2 separate regions of the Homo sapiens genome follow, and region 2 is linked to region 1. The links are contacts of gene promoters, found by promoter capture Hi-C in blood cells and fetal thymus (Javierre and others, 2016). All regions are on one chromosome and are shown on one strand. The core of a region is centred on a gene start or on the middle of the fragment in contact, and the rest is flanking DNA. Distances in the headings are between cores, read along the strand shown.

The links. Contacts are between HindIII fragments. The CHiCAGO score rates a contact against its expected background, and 5 or more counts as called.
Region 2: a contact is called between a fragment that was not itself captured here and the fragment with the promoter of CAMSAP1 in region 1, in 8 of 17 cell types (neutrophils, naive CD4 T cells, non-activated CD4 T cells and 5 more). The highest score is 9.2, in neutrophils.

What each region holds. Positions count from the first base shown.
Region 1 is chr9:135,905,870-135,909,473 of GRCh38, forward strand. It overlaps CAMSAP1 (calmodulin regulated spectrin associated protein 1), which reads right to left and starts at 1,677. Exons shown (of 17, transcript NM_015447.4): 1 at 1,131-1,677. The coding sequence starts at 1,290. It overlaps CAMSAP1-DT (CAMSAP1 divergent transcript), which reads left to right and starts at 1,964. Exons shown (of 2, transcript XR_007061860.1): 1 at 1,964-3,050. RefSeq lists an enhancer at 1-169 and silencers at 816-865, 1,266-1,335, 1,416-1,525, 1,566-2,245. The HindIII fragment of the contact is 15,122 bases long and covers 1-3,604 here.
Region 2 is chr9:136,240,106-136,243,709 of GRCh38, forward strand. All of the region lies in intron 1 of QSOX2 (quiescin sulfhydryl oxidase 2), which reads right to left. Among named protein-coding and RNA genes, the nearest start is that of QSOX2, 3.9 kb to the right of the region's middle. The HindIII fragment of the contact is 3,219 bases long and covers 138-3,356 here.

The DNA.
Region 1 (3,604 bases), core at 427-2,926:
ACCAATTCCGTTCTCAAAAACTCATGTGAAGTCTTGGATGTAGCAGTGTTTCTTCCTCATTACAACACAGAAACTAAGGTTCCACTGAGCCAGTAAACAAGAACTGTAAAACTGAAAACTGTCAAAGGAAAAACTCTTTCCCAATTACTACTTACACAGTACAAAAACCAGTTTGAAATAAGGCGAGTTATTTAATCCCTAAAACTTACAAAACGCGTTTGTCCTTATGACTAACTCGAGTCTAGCTGGGGCACAGGCCACTGTCAAACAGGGCAACGCCTACTCAGCGTTTTCCAAACTGGTCAACTGAACTCTTCTCTGGAAGGGCTGTCTCCTTTAGTCTTACTCTAAAAAGGGTAATTTTTCACCAGAATAAAGGCAAATATTTTAAGAATGCTTCAAATGAAAAGAGGATTGCAGAAATATTAACCTTTAATTGTACCTGAAACAAAGCACCTGAAATTAATAAAGAAGTCAGCCACTGACGAGAATCACTAGGTCTGTCCTGTTCCCAGGGCACGAAACAGAAGCGTCTTAATCCACTAAGCACATTAGGGCCTAACAAACTGGACTGAGTAACAAGGTTACCTAGTTCTTCCAAACAGGAATTAACCAAAGGGGATCATTATGATTAAGCACAATGCGCGGAATACGCAATTTCTAGTTGGGGAATTCAACAGCTGACAGCTTGTAAGCATCAAAATTCATAACAAGTGCAAGGCTCGGAATCACAGGTCCAGCACTGGACGATGCCCGGCGCGCCGGGAAGCGGCGCCTCAGACGGCGGCCCCGCGTCCCCATGGTCCCTCCCTGCGCCCAGAACCGGGCAGCTCCTTCCCGCCGCCGCCGCCGCCAACGGGAGGCTGGGGGCACTCCCGAAATAGGAGCGGAAGCCCCGACCCACGCCGCCCTCCGCCGCAGGGACGCCCACTCGCCAGGTGACCGCGTCCCCACGCTCCGCGTTGCCCGGGCGCCGCCAGGACCTCGGAGGCGGCCGGCCCAGCCCCGACCCTGTGCGGACGCGGCACAAAGGCGCGGCGCGCGGACCCCGACCCGGCCGGACCCCGGCCGCGTCCCCCGGCCCCGGCCCGCGCCCCTGGCCCCCGCCCCGCGCCCCTCACCCGGCCCACCTCGGCCGTAGGCCTTGGCGCAGATCCACTGCAGGTTGGCGGCGATCTTGGCGCGCGCCGCGTCGTAGCGGTCCAGGGGCACGAGGTCGGCGGCGCCGTCCGGCGGGGCCTCCATCTTCCTCCAGCCCTCGGCGGCGGCGCGGCCGCTCGCGTCCACCATCTGCAGACAAAGGGCTGAGGCGGCGGCCCGGCCGCAACAAAGGCGCCGCCGCCCCTCGCCGCGCCGGGCCCGGTGCGCCCCGAGCCACCACTCGGCCCCGCAGCCGGCCAGCCGGGAGGGGCGCCCGAGCGCGGCCCCCGCCTCACCTCACAGCCGCCGCCGTCGCCGCCCCCGCGGCTGCTGCATGCTGCGGGCGCTGAGCCCGAGCGGAGGAGGTGCCGAGCCCGCGGCCCAAAGAGGCGGCGGCAGGAGGGCGCGGGCCGGGGGCGGGGGCGGGCGCGGGGGCGGGAGCGGGCCGGGGGCGGTGGCAGCGCGTGCGCGGTCCCGGGTGAGCGGCGGCGGCGGCGACAGCGGCTGAGGCGGTGGCCAAGGAGCGGGAGCGCGCTCACCGCCGGGGCCTCGCACAGGCGCAGTAGGCACCGCCCGCCACCCCGCCCTCGACCCCGCCCCCAGCTCCGCTCCCTTCTCGCGCCTGCCCCGCCCCTTTCCGCAGGCGCAGTAGGCACCGCCCGCCAGCCCGCGCCCGCCCCGCCCCTTTCCGCAGGCGCAGTAGGTGGCACCCGCAGGCCTGTGCCTGCCCCGCCCCTTTCCGCAGGCGCAGTGAGCGTCGACCCGCCCCTCCCCGCCCGCTTCCGCAGGCGCAGTAGGACCCGCCCTGGTCCGCGCCTGCCCCGTTGCTTTCCTCAGGCTCTAAGGCCCGCGGTGTGGAGCGCGGCGTAGGCAGCGGGGAGTGGGCGGCGCGGGGTGGGTGGAGTGGGTCGGCGGCGGGGATCCTGCCGAGCCCGCAGCTGCCCTCTTTTAGCGCCGTGTCTCCTCCCCGGCCCTGGCTCGTCCCACCTCAGCCACAGCCCGGCCCCCTGGCCGGCCGAGGTCTCGCCGCCGGCGCCCTGGGGACCTCGTGGGTGTGGCCGGCGGCGACCTCGGCAGGCGACAGCCCAGCAGACGGGCACCAGGTGGACGTGCCAGTCTCCAGACCCCCGTCCCGGTGCAGGGAAGGTGGGCGTTTGGACCCCTGAGGCAGAAACAGGTGCGGCCCCGCCGGCGCATCCCCCGGAAGGGACGCTGACTTCGTTCCCCTGGAGCCTGCGTCGGGGCCCGCGCTGGGCTGAGAATTACGGGAACGCCGTGAGAGTTTGCATTCCGAGGATTTGGTCTGAGAACCTCACCAGCGAAATAGAGAACTGCCCCCGGGAGAGCCGGCCCACGTGCCGCCCACCGGCGCCTTGACGGCAGGGAGAGGTCGAGCTTCCAGGGAGCGGGCGCCCGGCGCGGGGCTCCCAGCCTGTCTGTACCTGGTCGAGACACCCCGTGCCAGAGGCGGAACATGTATGAAATGCCAGGTGCCCAGAGGACCCAGGCAGTCCGTCATTCACATACCAACCCACGTGCAGGCTTCAATTCAACCTTGAAGCCATTTGGGCCTGGGCTTTTTTGATGACTTATTTGATTCATAGTTTTTTGGTTACTAATTGAGTCTCTTCACTTGTTATAGGTCTGTTGAGATTGTCTATTTTTTCTTGAGTCAGCCGTCTGAAAAGAACACGAGGTGGACAGGGCAGAGCGGTCAAGGAAAGCCATAGGAGGAGGGCACTTATTTGAGCAAAGACCGGCGGGACGTGGGCGTCGAGGGTAAGGATATCTGCAGAAGTACTGTCTTGAGCAAGGAGCACGGCAGACAGAGCCTCTGAGACACGAGAGCCTGGAGTGTAAGAAACACAGTAGAGGCCACTAAGTCGAGAACGCAGGAGCTGGAAGGACTGGTAGGAAATGGGAGGTGGGGACATGGAGGGATGCAGACAGGTCCTGCACAGTCAGAACTGTGGCCCCTTCTCTGCAGGAAATGGGCAGCCTTCGGAAGACTGAGCACACGGAAGGATATGACTAACCCTTTAAAAGGGTCATTCTGACTCCTGGGTGAAGAACAGACTAGGAAGGGCTGAGGAGGAGGCAGGAGGCCATCTACTGTTATATGGGATGTGGAGTGTGACCCGGAAAGGTCAAGTGTGACTCTAAGGGCTTTTTGTGTACTGATCTTTTATCCTGCAACCTTGCTAAACCCATTTATTAGTTCTTCTTGTCTTTTAGTGGCATTTATTAGTTGTTCTAGTGTTTTAGTGGATTCCTTGGGATTTTATACAAAAGCGTGTCATTTGTGAATAGAGATCAGTTTATCTCTTCCTTTCTAATCTGGATGCCTTTTATTTCTTCTCCTTGCCTAGCTGCCCTATCTAGAAGCTCCAGTACAATATTGACTAGAAGCAGCAAGAGTGGACATCCTTGTCTTGCTCCTGATTTCAGGGAGGAGGCATCCAGT
Region 2 (3,604 bases), core at 497-2,996, 330 kb after region 1:
GGGCGGGGGTGCCCAACCCAGCACAGCCAGGGGGTTCCAAAGGGAGGCAGAAATGAGACCGCAGGCCTATTCTCACTTCTGCTCAAGAGCCTGGCTATTTTAGGACTCCAGTCTTAAAAATACTTGGGAAATAATTAAGCTTCTATATATAGTAGATTAACATTTATTTCAAATGTGCTTGTCAAATAACTCTAATACTGAATCTAACAAGGTTAACTCTTTACTGCTTGTCACGTTCTAATGAAAAAGTCTACAGAAGTCTAATGTATAGTCCAGTATCAAATCGTTCTAGAAAATGATTACAGTAAAGATAAAACAATCTCCCAAGTTGAAAGGCAACTAGGGAGCTGTGTTTAAGGGACAGAGGTCCACTGCAGCCTCTCCTTCCTGAGTCAGGGCCATGCTGGGGTCTCGAACTCCGCATACCAGTCCCTGGAGAAGACCCTCTCTGGGTGGAGCCCCCTCTTGGCTGAGCAAAGGTCTTCTTAGCTAAGCTCCAAGTTCAAGGCACAAGTTTGGAATAACAGGCCTGGGTAGAAATGAAACCCACCTAGCGACCAGGAGAGCCTAACACAAATCACCTAGAAGTTGCCAAGGGCTGGTCTGAGAAAACCCGGGCACACGCTACGGTCGCCTCATCTGGGGACTGAGGGCAGGGCTGGGTCCCATGGACTCTTGATCCCCAGCATTTAACTCAATTCTGGTAAACCAAAACTACACGTTCTTCAGCCTCGAAGGGTGCTCCGAGGTGACAGCAATTCCAATGCTGTTTATCTGTTGGTAGGGAATGACAGTCCCTCAGCCCGTCCTCTGTCAGGGAAGCCCAAGCAGTGCTTATGACCTGGGTCACCCCATGGCACGACGACCGGCATGACACAGCGGAGACGGCTCCCTGGACGTGGCTGTAAGGCCCTCTTAGCAAACCATCCCGTCTTACTTCAACAACAAGTAAGTGGCCTGGGTCTCTCGGTGTAGTCTCAGACGCACCAACCACAGCCACTGGGGAGGCCAGCGGGGAGCCCGGCTGCTCCGATGCACCATCCTTTCTGTAAAATACTCATGTGGTCGCCACAGCGGGGCTACATTAAGCCATTTCTGGGCCCGTAAGGAGACAGGAGGCCTCCACTGCCCAACTCTTCCTCCTTCCACCCTCTCCATCCTCCCGAGTCCAGTGAGCACCTGGCAGCTCTCACGGGCCGTCAGCCCCGCCAAATGCCCGCTGACACCTGCATGTCCCCCTCCCTCTGGCCCTTATTGTTTCTTTTTCCAGTAAACGGACAATGAGCCTGTGGGGAACACCAAGTTCTAATTCATCTCCAAGAAGCCTGCAGCCTAGTCGAGTAGACAAGAAACCAGACCAAGTGGGACAGAGGAGCTGGCAGCAATCACAGAATGCCCTACCCTTCCTTCAAGAGATGTCGGATGTGTCCAGCTCCCAACCCCCACCTGTCCTCTACAAAGACACAGGAATGAACTGCCATGGCTCCAGGTCACCCACACCTGGACACCCATCCCGGCCTGTCACTCAGCTGCGTGACCGTGACTATCCCACGCAACCTCACGTGCTATCACCTGCAACATGAGCGCCCCCGCACTCCTGAGGACAGGTGTGGGAGGACTCGGCCTGTTCCACGCAACCTCATGTGCTATCATCTACAACATAAGCGTTCCCGCCCTCCTGAGGGCAGGTCTAGGAGGACTCAGCCTGTTGTGGGTGGTGGCCTGCCCTGTTTTCTCAGGCTGACCAAGTGAAGGAGATGGGAGGGAACAGGCACCAGGGCCACAGAGGGCGCACGGGGACACAGGCCCTGCCTTTAGGGTGCACCCTCTTGTCCACTCAAGACTGCAGAGGCATTTCGGAGATCTCACCGGTCAGACGGGCCAAAGTGTAGCCCCAGGCCCTGGTGCCTCATCTTCCATCACAAACCCAGCAACCATCACTGCCAGGCAGATCTTCAGGAACCCAACAAGGTTTTGTTCTGCAAAGTACTTAGAAGTGACAGGCTTAAGCCAAATCTCCACAAACACTAGAATGACACTTGGTCACACCAAACAGTACAACTTTTGTTTCTTAAGCCACCTTCTTATAAGAAAAAACATTTATTTTCCCAGCCTTGAAAAAGCCAGTCAAGAGCTAAAGTTCAATCCAAATTTCTGAGGAAAACAAAGGTGCCCTGGCCTGTCCTGCTCCTTCCAGCTGGAGGCTCCTGGGAAGCAGAGCCCACACCTAACCATCCTCTCCAGCAGCCACAGGCATGAAGAACGCAGGGCGTGGCGGGCGCTGGCCAGGGGGACCAGTGGGAGAAGGCGGCTGGACACTCTAGGTAGAAGTGGGGGCCCAAGCCATGGCCTGTGTGCCCCCAGGGGATCAGCAGGATGACCTAAGTCACAGGTGATTGATCAGGGCCACAGGTGACTGATCTGAGTCAGGTCAACAGGGACATAAGAAAACATGAGAATGTTGACAACGGGAATGCCTGCATGCAGCCAGACCCCTGCACTGCCACGGGCAATGGGCGCCCTATCCCTGTGGGACAGCTCCACGCAGGGATGACAGACAGGGAGCCAGGCGCCAAGCAGACAGTTCTGAGCTGGCAGGTCTGGGCTGGGGCTGTGGAGAAGCAGGCATTTCTAACAAGGCCCTAAGTGGCCCTACTTTGAGAGTCCCAGCCTTAGAACAGCTCCGGGGACTCCTCAGTGCCAAGGGCCTTTCATCCCTTTCTACCCGGACTCTACCTCCCACAAGCCTCATGGGCACAGCTTGGCTCTCAGGACTGTAAACCAAAAATAAAATCCTGAGTCCCCTAACTGACTGAATTGAACCCCCTCTTGGCCAAGGAGACCCCAGGGCAACCTGAGGAAAGAAATTCCAGGCCCTGACGGCAAGGGAGGTCAGACACGCCTGGTTACATCACCTCCCTTTGGAGTTTAGGCAGAGCTGACCAGCGTGATGAAACAGAGATCACAGACAGACAGCACAGCCTCAGCAGCAACGACACCAAACTCCAGCCTGACTCGGGTACAGCACCACATGACAAATAGCACACCCTGCAGGAAATCAAAATATTTCACCCCCAAATACATTTATTTCCCTGACATATTTGAAATGGTCCTGCAAAGCTGTCTTTTGTGAGGGAAATTTGCATCTGTAGAGAATCTCCCTCCCTTTCTAGGTCTTTCCTGGATCTAGGAGACATTTAACGAGTCTGACAGCATTCAGGTCTGAAAAGAGACATTTACCCTCTATTCTCCCCAAGGCTGCTGCCTGTGAGGCTTCATCTACTTAACCTTGGCCTCCACAGCCCCTTTAGCTTAACTCAAGCATTTCTCTTTGCTGACTTCAAGTCTTTAGACAAAGCTTAACTCTTTCAATCAATTGCCAGTCAGAATCCACCTATGATCTGTAAACCTACCCCTTCCTATACCTTACATGTACTGATTTATGTCTCTCTGCCTATAACTTCTGTCTCCCTAAAATGTATAAAATCAAATTAACGTGACTGCCTAGAGCACACTTTCTTAGGACCTCTTGACACTGTTCCCCTGGCCATGGCCACTACACTTATTGGCTCAGAACAAACCTCTTTCAGTATTTTATAGTTTG